Linked DNA regions of Homo sapiens: regions 1, 2 and 3 are each linked to region 4. The links are contacts of gene promoters, found by promoter capture Hi-C in blood cells and fetal thymus (Javierre and others, 2016). All regions are on one chromosome and are shown on one strand. Each heading gives the region's core, a stretch centred on a gene start or on the middle of the fragment in contact. The rest is flanking DNA. Distances are from core to core; before and after follow the strand shown.

Region 1 (2,700 bases), core at 172-2,671, 680 kb after region 4:
CAGAATAAATCCTTTAATTTTTAGATAGTAAGTAAATAAAAGGGCACATATTTTTACCTTGTCCTGAGTCCACAATATAAATATGATTATTAAAATTCTTTTATCAATATTTCTGAAAGTCATATAAATGTGTGATTTATTTTACAGAAATTTCAATAAGTCTCATTTTTCTAATTGACACATTTTAGCTTTTTTTCAAAAAAATAATATTTTATTTTAATTGAGACATACTAAAATTTCTAAAAGGTACTCGGGAATTTTCCTTACAAATCCTAAGAAAATACCCTCTGTTACGTAGTAGAATGAGTACAAGATTGGTTATTTCATTGAAAGTATTTTAACCTCTATAAGCAATTAAACCAACACGAAATAAGTTGAAGGAGCTCAAGTTTTAACAGACCGAAATAAATGAATAATCAAAAACATATTTATTTTTGTTTTAACTTAAAGAAAACACATGTGAAAAGGTGCAAAGATCTGCAGAAAAATAACATTTAAGTGGCCACCCGATATAGATAGGATATCAGTGGCTTGGGCAGTATTGTTCTCTATGATTTAAAGGGCCAGTAAAAACAGTTTCAATTCTGAAGCGATAATCACAAACTTTATATCACTTTCTCTGAAACCTCCTCTCTCCGGAAGAGAAGGAAAAGCAGTACAATGTGCTCATTGAAGAAGACAGCTCTGTACAGGCAGAAGAAGAAGCAGAGTCCTGTGCAGCTTCATTCTAATGTAGACTAAAGTGCATGGTATTGTTAGTGAGAAAACTTCTACAAATAGAGATAATTCTTTATCCAGGAGAAATGAAAAGAAATTACAACATAGCCAGCATAGGAGTGTTTCAAAAGTACAAATCAGTGATGCACACACACACACACACACACACAGCCCCAGATGTCAATGGTCTATTTTTCATTAAATAATTGAATTAAGATTACTTGAAAATAGATTCAATGTTTGTTGAAAGAAGTAAAATAGCTGTAGTTGTGTTATTGTTTGACAACATGGGTATTATCAACATTTGTTCTTTCATTGTTTATTCTATTATATGGAAATATCAAAATTTATTAATTTAACCCTCTAATAGTTGGGCATAGATTATTTTTCTTTCTTTCACTAGTACACAGAACTCAACTGAATAAAAATTTTTGTGCACATTCATAATACTTTCTTTAAATATATTTTTATAAATTAACTGACTGGTCAAAGGCACATTTTTCAGGCATTTCTTACATATGCCAACTTGCCTTAGAGGAAGGTTGTGCCAGTTTATAATCCTATAGCCTAAGAGAGCACTTGTATTTTTTTCCAGTGAGTATAAAAATTTAAGGCTTTTTTCTAATGTGAAAAATATCTTATTTTAAAAATGTGTAAATTTACTAAACCTCATTTTTCCATATGTTGTCTTTTAATTTTCTAAATGCATTTTTTGATACATTATTTTTTAACCAATTATTTTAATATGCTCCTTAAAGTTTCTCACTTTCTTGTTATGATAAGTCAGCTATAATTTATTCTAGATTTTTATGGTTTAATTATAAAAATACATTTTTAGTTCACCTAGATTTCATTTTGATGTATAGTGTTTGAAAAAAACCCTAGTTTTTTCTCCTTTTAAAAAAAAGTACATTAAAAGCTATACATCCAAATGAATTTTTTCTTCAAAGTCATTATCTTAGGTAGTTAATAACATATTTTAATGATACTCAGAACATATTTGTAAGTTTTCTCTAAAATTGTCTTTAATGCCAGTAGAAACTTATAAAGCCACATAAACACATCACTTTGGGATTTATAACTGTGCTTTGATTTTGATCAGAAGTGAAAAGACTCAGCTTGATCACTTATCTCATTCAGCAGACTTGGCTTTGATTGGCTTTCTGCTCTTTCTAAAAATAAAATCTGACCTCAATTGATGAAGATGCACCATCACTAAGAATATTTCAAAGGGTCTATACCAAAGATACCTAAGAATTCCTGAAAGAGGACTTCCAAAAATATTCGGAACAGTGGAATAAGGGTCTGCCCTCTTATAGTGACTAACTTGAAATTGGCAATACTCATTTTATTGTATCCATTCTGGTTTTGTTGTTTAAACTTTGTTTTCATTATTTAATAATTTTACTGTTTATATTTCCTCTAAGAATCAACTTGCTAAGTGAGCAATCTTGTGTATTAAACATCTCTTGTGTGATTTTAAGATGTCAATATACTTTTAAAAAACAAAACAATCCAAAACATATTTATACCAAAGCAGTATGTGTGTGTGTTTTAACCAGCAGATCTTGGACATATATAGCACAGTATCTCACACATAGGAATACAATTATAAACAACATTCTTATTAAACATATATTCTTCTTCTAGTACATTTAGTAATGAGAAACAGCAGTAAACATAGGACACAAATAATACGTAAAGGTAGTTAATGAAATATATATTCTAACAATACTTTTTTGGGGCAGAAACTTCATTTCCAGAAATATTAAATAAAGCATAGGATATAGTCTGGGATTTCAGGAAAGGAAAGAGAAGTTTTATTCAAAGATGACAAACTAGTGGACCTGAATTCTTCCTGTGCACTTAAGTTTACTTTTCTTTAATGTAAATGCTATTGAGTGAGCCCTATACCCTGAAGCCAGAGCTGGACCCTTACCCTGGCCCCCAAGGTATTTGAGTTTGCAATTTCCAAATTGGAAT
Region 2 (2,700 bases), core at 125-2,624, 650 kb after region 4:
TTTCTCCTTGTTTTTCTTCTGGCTTCTAGAGGTTTTCTGCATTCTTTCGCCCATGTACTCCTTCCTTTCTTCATGTTCAAGACCAGTAAATTTGCCTCTCCCTCACCCTGCCTCCCTCGTCACATCTTTCTCTGATGACAGCCAGGCAAAGAACTCCACTTTGAAGAACTCATGTGATTACATTGGGTTGCCTGGATAACCCAGGATGTCATCCATAAACACATCTGCAAAGGCCCCTTTGCCGTGAAAGGTAATATTCACAGATTCTTGGGATTAGGATGTGAACATTTTTAAGAATCCATTATTCTGCCTATCAGAGTATTTTAAGTTCCTTCCCAAAGTGCTAAATCACTAAATGTATTATAGCTTCATAAAATTAAATAAAGTATGAGTGTTTTGTTTCCTCTTTGCATGTGAGCCCTTTCCAAGTGACCAGGAAGATACTACTCATTCTTCAAGGTCCTGGACCAATGAGCCCTACTCTGGGACCTCTTTCTCTACTGCATCTAGTTGCTGCCCCTTCTGAATTTCTTCTCCATTTATAGGTGGTAGCTTCTGCATCCATCTCCAATGTGTCTTCCGGGCTCCTGTCAATAACAGGAGCTCCTAAAAACAGGGACTTAATCCAATTCAACTTTTTAAAAATAGCAGACATTGTAGGTGATATTCCTAGAGACACTTCCTAGGGGAACTTCCCACATTTTAGACTATCATCTATATGCCCATGACTCTCAAAATCATTATCTCCTGTTTTGATTCCTCCTAGAATTCTCAATTCACTTAGCCAACAGCCTATAAAATATCTCCTCTTCGATATCTAATAAACATCTGTGTTGTGGGTCTCCAAAGCTACTCTCAGATTCAATGATTTTCTAGAAGGACTCATAGAACTCAGAAAAGCTTTTGTACTCATGGTGACAGTTTGTTACAGTGAATGGATACAGATTGCAATCAGAAAAAAAAATGGTACAGAGGGCAAAGTACAGAGGAAATCAGATGCAGCTTCCAGTTGTCTTCTCCGGGTAACATTGTATGGCCAGCACTTAATTCTCCCAACAATAATGTGTGATAATACATGAAAAGTACTGCCAACCAGGGAAGCTCACCTGAGTCCTGATGTGCATGGTTTTGACTGTGAGTCGCTCATATAGGCATGCAGCACCTATATGATTAACCTTAGGTCAAACGGATATAGTCTCAGGGACCCAGAAAACAAAAACAGGTGTTTACCATAAATCACATTGTTAGCAAGACCCCAGGTATACAAAGACACTCTTATCATGCAGAATATTTCAAGAGCTTATAGACCTATCTCAGAAGCTGGTCAAGAGCCAGTCCTTTTTTGGAAGGTGAAGGGTTTGAACACCACAAGTCTGAATTAACCCTTTACTGAACAGCGTCTCCAATTTAACATGGCTAAATCCAGAACACTTCATTTTCCCCCAAACCTGCTCTTACATGAGTCTTTCCCACTTAGGTAAAAAGTATTAGTATCCATCCAGTGGCTCAAATAAACAAAACACAAACAAAAAAATCTAAAAATTATTCTTATTATTCTCCTCATCCTTTATGTCAGTTTCATCAGCAAGTGCTAGCAATTCTCCTTTTAAAACATTTCTAAAACAATCCCAAAATTTCCCACTTCTTTCTATCTCTACCATGATCATAGTCCAAGCCACTTTGGCTATAGTCTCCTAAATGATTTCCTTCTTTAACCTCCAATCTTTTCTACACAGAGCATCCAGAATGATATTTTAGAATAATAGAGATCGTGCCATTACCATGCTTAAATCCTCCAGTGGCTTTCCATCATCAGACCTAAAGCCTTCTCTGAATTAAAAAGCTTTATTCTAACCCCTGCTTGCTTCTTTAACCACCCCTCAATTACTCTTTATATCTCCACCTATGATTCTATCAAAATGGTCTTTTTTTTATTGCTTGGACTTGGCAAACTTGTTTTGCCTCAACTGTTCTGCTACTTGAAATACTTTCTCTATTTTTTCATGGCTGACTTCTTGTCATCATTTGTAATTTTCAGCTTAAATATCAACCTCCTCAGAGAGGCTTTTTCTGCCCATCCTAAAACAGGTAGCTGATTACTCACCTGACATCATCCAATTTTAATTCTTTGCATTGTATTATAGTTATTGATATCTAACCGTTTCTATTGTTTATCTTTAAAAAAATTTATGTCTTAACTTTTCTTTTCTTGTGCATAATATAAGATCCCATGAAGGCTTGGTCTTGCTTATTCCTTTTGTATTTCTTGGTTGACATGTAACAGACACCCAATGGATATATTTACTCAGTGGATAAATTTTTTAGCATCATCATGAGAGGTTAAAAAGTTGCTTGGGATTATAACTGGTGTTTAATGAAAAGTAGTTTAACTGAATTTTTGGTCTAATAAGAATCAGAAGAATTCCAATAAAGTTATCTGCCTTTAACTCTCATAATTTTTTTTTTTTGGCATTTTCTTTCCATTTACTCATTTGTACGCAGCAGCCATGATTTTTGGTCTTAGCTATTTAAAAACACCAAAATGATTCTTATATCTTGGTGAGTTTTAGCAACATGTTAAAAATTTGATTTTAAGGCTGAGATAGTTTCTAAATATTTTATAGTTTATTAAACAATCAACCAGAACAACATTGAAGAGTCAGGTTTATAAAAATCCCTTACTTTTTTTTTTTGGTATGG
Region 3 (2,700 bases), core at 6-2,505, 940 kb before region 4:
GAACAAGGTGTATAGGCATTGGTGAGTGGCAGACAACAAGACAGCCAACTAAAAACAAAATCAGGTGTAGATAATTAGTTCTGACATTTTATAATTTGTGACAAAATGATTTTAAAATAAAGTTTATCTGTCTTAGTTTGTATCAATGAGGGAGATCCCCTGAAATGCAACCACTCAATCCCTTTGTCAGTATTTGGACAAATTACCAAAATATCTAGCCCTCTAAAGGCTTTACCCTATTTATAAATTGTAGTTTTTGGCCTCTGCCCAGATTCGGATGTTAGAAATTAGCCTAAAATCTGAGTCCTCATTGAAACAGATTTAGGTAGACTAACTGCTGAGCCTTTCCAATTCACATTGCTGTAATCTATTAGGTTTCATTGAATGAGACACATGAGGATGCTATAATAAAAACCTTTGATAAAGAGTCCCTAGAGTCAAGGGGTATGCTTAGGGCATTGTGTTTCTCTGTCCATAGAAGTGCTTACATAAGTTAAGAAAATACAAGCCAATCTCTTGTCAGACGTAGAAGTGGTATTCCTGAATATGGCTGTCCCATCAGGAAATTGAGTGGCCTGTGGCCAGAGGAGGTATTGTTTTCCTTTTAAGTTCTTTGTGTTCATGAAAAGGCTCTTTGATTCTCAGAATGTATTTGTTTCAAGGTAATTTACTTTGAATTCACTCATGCTCAGAAGTCTCCTGAAAACTTTTACTTAAACTTTTACAGTGTATGTTTTATAGGCAACCCACACCTGGATGAATTTCAAAGAGTCTTTCGTATGACATCTATTTTAATAATGAGCGCTTGGTTTCTAAAGCCTACCAGGTTCTATCATATGGAACCTTTAATTAATAGCAGTTACGTTTTCAAAACACTAACTTTACCTCTTAGTATCAAATCTTTCTTAATATGATTAAGAGACAAATGCATAGCTGTCAATTTTTGGTGAGGTGTTTCAGCTTCAAAGGAATTTGCCTGTTTGAAAGCTTTCTTGAAGTTTAGATATGCTGCCATCAGGTGGTAGTAATATGTCATATCCCTGTGGCTCTGCAGATGGCACTCTGCTAAAGGTCACCAGTTTACCCCACAAAGATTTATAATCATCAATGCACATAAGTGTGTATGGAAATTAAAATAACATAGTGTATCTGTTATTTTATCAACAGGAAGGATACTTTGAATGGAAATTTTAAAACAGATACATATGGCAAGATTCTACTGGACATTTTTTCACTGTTCTTGGTTTACTTTTTTGGTGAATGAAGCATTTTATTTTATGCCTTATAAATATTTAGAAAATATGGAAAAGTAAAATTTAAAACTTACCTAATTACACCCACCCAAATATAATTGCTATTAACCCTTTGCTTCATTTCCTTCCAGTCGTTTTTTAAATGCAATTTTTAGTAATTTTTGTTTCTGTTTTTTGTAGTGGAGTTGGATGGCAGGAAAAGGTATTTGGCTGTAGTAACATTGTGTATATAGCTTGTATACTTTACAACTTTTAAAATTATAAGCTTTTTATAACTACTTCATGACTTCTTACTATTCCGTTGATTGAAATTTTTCATAATTTATATAGTCCTTCACCTCTTAGTAGATAATGTATATTTCTAATATTTACAGTGTTCAGTATTTTATCTCTCCCTTTCATCCACTGCCTATCAAGAGGGCTATTATCGAATTGCATCTATGCTTGATTTTTGTTTCAACACAAAAGAATTTCTAGTTCATCTGAGTAGCTATTTTATATTTCCTCTATCACATTTTTTACTGCCAGAAAATTTGAACTCTCAGCTTTCAACTATGAATGTATAGTCTGTTATTATTTTCATATCATATGAATGAATTTGTAAATTGTACAAAGCCAGGTACCACATATGAAGATTTCAGGGCCTGTGATATTATGAAATGAAGCCATTATCTATATCCTGCCAAAATAACTTTTTCTTCTGTTTTTTATAGCATAAAACATTGCATTAAAGAGATACAGTCCGAAATTAACAAACAATGTCCAGGTGTGCAGCTGCAAACAACAACTGACTGCTTTGAATGGCTAACTAACTATAATTACAGTACATCTGAATCATCTTTCATTTCTCATGGAGACTTGATAAAATTTTTCAAAACACTGGTAAAATGAATTTTTATTTTATCATGGAGTGGGATGAGTAAACAGGGAATACAACTCATTCAATTTCTATACGTAAATATTTATTTGAGTGACCATATTAGCCTGCCATACATAGGGGTTTGTGTTTTTATGTTCCTATATCCCCAACATAATCCACTGAGCTATTTGTTTTAATTTTTAACTATGATTTTTATCAATAAAATAAAATTTTATATAAATGGAGATACAATATTATGATTCCTGGGTGATTTGTGGTATGATATATATCATATCAATACCACAAAATGTATTGATGTGTATCACAGCTGTCTACCAGAAAAGTTCATATTCATTATGTTTTGTATCCTTTCACTATTCATTTTTTATATGCTCATTATTAAAGCATAATAAGATCCCCATGTATTGTGTCTATTAAGTGGCCTTGACTATTATTCCCTGCATTCCTAACCTGCAGTCTAACCCAGTTCTTTTCAATCAAGGTAGCAATTTATGCAAGACCACCAAATGACAGAGAATTATTATGTTGGGTATTCTTAATATTGACCACCATCTATGCTAGAGAAGT
Region 4 (2,742 bases), core at 138-2,637:
AATGGGAATGAAACCCCCACCATTTTAATGATTTGTGAAATATACTGGATTTGGATTGTTTTCTTCTCTCACATATAAGCACAATCCAAGTCTGGATTCTGCTCATTTTATATCCTTTTTAGAAACAAGTAGAAACAGGGTAGGATCTCCCTATTTTTTAATCCAAAGTATACCTTGGTTTAAAAGGTTTAATGATGACAAAGCACACTCCTGGAATTTGCAGCTATTGCCACAAATTCGATCGGAATCAAGGGTTCCTATTTATCCCAAAGATGATTTTAAAAATAAACTTTCCAATCAATCCAATTTTTCCTTCTTCTTTTTTTTTTTTTTTATCACCTGGCTGTTCCAAACTCCAACAATGCTTCAATCATTATTAATAAAACAGTAGTAAGTCCCCATATTGTTGCAGGGTGGGGGGAGATTAGTGTGGCCAAGTCAGTCCCGGGAAAAGAGCAAACAAACGAGAAGATGGAGAGGGGGGGAGGCGGAGAGGGAGAGAGAAAAGGGGGAGGAGGAGAGAGAGAGACAGAGAGAGAGGAGAGGAAAGGAAAGAGAGGAGAGAGGAGAGCGCGCGAGATATTGAGAGAGAGAGAGAGAGAAGAGAGGAGAGGGGAGAGAGAGAGAGAGGAGAGAGAGAGAGACCCAGAGAGAGAGGAGAGAGAGAGAGACCCAGAGAGAGAGAGAGAGAGAGAGACCCAGAGAGAGAGAGAGAGACCGAGAGAGAGAGGAGAGAGGAGAGAGAGAGAGAGGAGAGAGAGAGAGAGAGGAGAGAGAGAGAGAGAGAGACGAGAGGGAGAGGGAGAGGGAGAGGGAGAGGGAGAGGGAGAGGGAGAGGGAGAGAGGAGAGGGAGAGGGAGAGGGAGAGGGGGAGAGAGAGAGAGAGAGAGAGAGAGAGAGAGAGAGAGAGAGAGAGAGAGAGAGAGAGAGAGAGAGACCGAGACCCCGATTCCTGAATCCTGAAGGTGATTGGTCGCGGGAGGAGGGGCAGGCGGGAGGAGCGGGTCCCGCGGCGGGGCTTGCAGGAATCGCTGGCTCCGGCTGCCACCTAGCGGACGGGAGCCGCTCCCGGGCGGCACACAGCCGAGTCCCTCCTCCCCTCCCCGCAGGCAGCCTGTGCCTTTTCTCCAAACGAAGACAGCACTTTGAAAATTCTTTCAATGGATTTTTTTTTCCTTGAAAGATCGTACTGGGGGAAAATGATACTTCTATTAGTTACATATTCTCCAATCGCATACTCGCACCCCCCTCGTTTTGAGATCGCTCCCCTAGGCAGGCTCAGGCGGGCGCGGAGCCGCGCGGAGTGACAAAGCCGCCGCTGCCGCCGCCGGGGGTGGGAGCCGCGCTCGCCCGCCCGCCCCTCGACTCGCGAGGGCGTAAAAGTTTGTCTCAGCTCGAGCATTCCTAGCGCCAACACGCCCTCAGGTAAAGGTGGAAGTAAATGGCCACGCTGTATTGACAGAGGTAGGGTTTGTTTTTTAATACTCGTTCTCACTTTAAGTCTCACCAGGGAGGGGTTTGGGAAGCACTGCGTGTTTGGGGGACGTTTTGCGCTTCCTGGTCTCTCCAGCCTACAAGTCGGGAGTCGGCGACCGCTTAGTGACGAGCGATGATTTTAAAGAGCAGAATAAAAGGTTTTCCCGTGCCTGCCCCACAGCCCCTCCAGCTCGAATAATGGAGAACTGTCAATGCACTCCGCGAGCGGTGGCCCATTGTACGCAGCTGATGGCGAGGAGGCGACTGGGGGTAGCAGGGGCTCCTTGCCCTCGTCCCTATGCCCAAATAAACGCGCAAACGCGCTCCCGTCTTCTGGTCAGTTAAAAGGTGAAACGAACACGATTAAAATAGACCAAAAGAAAAGAAAGAAAAGAAAACCTTTCTATGTACAGATTCTAAATCGTACTCCCCATACAGTCAGAGGCAGGGAGTCGAGGGCAGAGGCAGCAGGCGGAGAGAGGGAGATAGGGCGAGGGAAGGAGAACGCGGAGAGAGACGAAGGGAGTGGGAGACCAGCGACAGCGAGCGCCAGGGCACCGCAGGCACACTGGATGCCCAGTCCGCCGGCCCAGCCGCCCTCGGACCCTGGACCGTGCGTCGTGGGCACCAGAAACGAGACTCGGCCAAATCCTGCCTCACCAGGCAAGTAACATAATGGTTGTCGTTTCTCTTGAACTTGGGGTTGGTAACGGGCAGGGCCGGGAGGCAGTCTTGGCTCGCACGGCCTCCGCAGGCCGAGAGCAGAGTCTAGGCAGCCAGGGCGGGACGAGGAGAACTTTCTTCGGGGCCTGCTCGGGAGTTGCCCTCGCTCGGCCTCTGTCTCGCCGTAGCGCTAAGGCGAGGATCGCGGCCGCCGCGCCTCCTTGGAGGGGAGGATCGTGCCAGGCGAGCAGCAATCCACATTCAAAACAGGCTGCTCCCACCCCCACCCGCTATTCCCTCTCTCTCCTAGGCGGGAAACGGATGCCCGGGCGGAGGACGGGGACCCGCACGTTTAACACCGGCCCGGCTGTTCCTGCTGGTGCCGAGCGCGACCCGCGGTGGAGCCGGCTGCAGAGTCCGGCCCGGCTGGCCCTTGTGCCCGCGCCTTGCCTGGTTACGGCCTGAACCTGGCGAGCTTGGCTGCAGCCGCCCACCTGCGGACGCCGTTTGTAACGCCATCCCCTAATGTAACGCGATCGATGGCTGCCTGTCTGATGTGGGCGATAGTGTCAGCGGATTAAAAGGGACATCGAGCCGCTCTCC

Evidence for each region. The method cuts DNA at HindIII sites, captures the fragments that hold promoters and counts their contacts. A CHiCAGO score of 5 or more calls a contact.
Region 1: a fragment that was not itself captured here is called in contact with the fragment with the promoter of NR2F1-AS1 in region 4 in 1 of 17 cell types (endothelial precursors); the score reaches 5.9 in endothelial precursors.
Region 2: a contact is called between a fragment that was not itself captured here and the fragment with the promoter of NR2F1-AS1 in region 4, in 1 of 17 cell types (endothelial precursors). The highest score is 5.5, in endothelial precursors.
Region 3: a contact is called between a fragment that was not itself captured here and the fragment with the promoter of NR2F1-AS1 in region 4, in 1 of 17 cell types (fetal thymus). The highest score is 6.9, in fetal thymus.

The regions. Positions count from the first base shown.
Region 1 is chr5:92,902,207-92,904,906 of GRCh38, reverse strand. No RefSeq gene overlaps it. Among named protein-coding and RNA genes, the nearest start is that of LINC02058, 36 kb to the left of the region's middle. The HindIII fragment of the contact is 5,814 bases long and covers 1-2,700 here.
Region 2 is chr5:92,928,527-92,931,226 of GRCh38, reverse strand. The region is part of intron 1 of LINC02058 (long intergenic non-protein coding RNA 2058); the gene reads left to right. Among named protein-coding and RNA genes, the nearest start is that of LINC02058, 9.9 kb to the left of the region's middle. The HindIII fragment of the contact is 943 bases long and covers 903-1,845 here.
Region 3 is chr5:94,523,365-94,526,064 of GRCh38, reverse strand. It overlaps KIAA0825, which reads left to right. Exons shown (of 21, transcript NM_001145678.3): 4 at 1,967-2,135. Among named protein-coding and RNA genes, the nearest start is that of KIAA0825, 94 kb to the left of the region's middle. The HindIII fragment of the contact is 531 bases long and covers 990-1,520 here.
Region 4 is chr5:93,579,864-93,582,605 of GRCh38, reverse strand. It overlaps NR2F1-AS1 (NR2F1 regulatory antisense RNA 1), which reads left to right and starts at 1,387. Exons shown (of 8, transcript NR_186187.1): 1 at 1,387-1,464. RefSeq lists a silencer at 942-991 and an enhancer at 1,112-1,211. The HindIII fragment of the contact is 7,751 bases long and covers 1-2,742 here.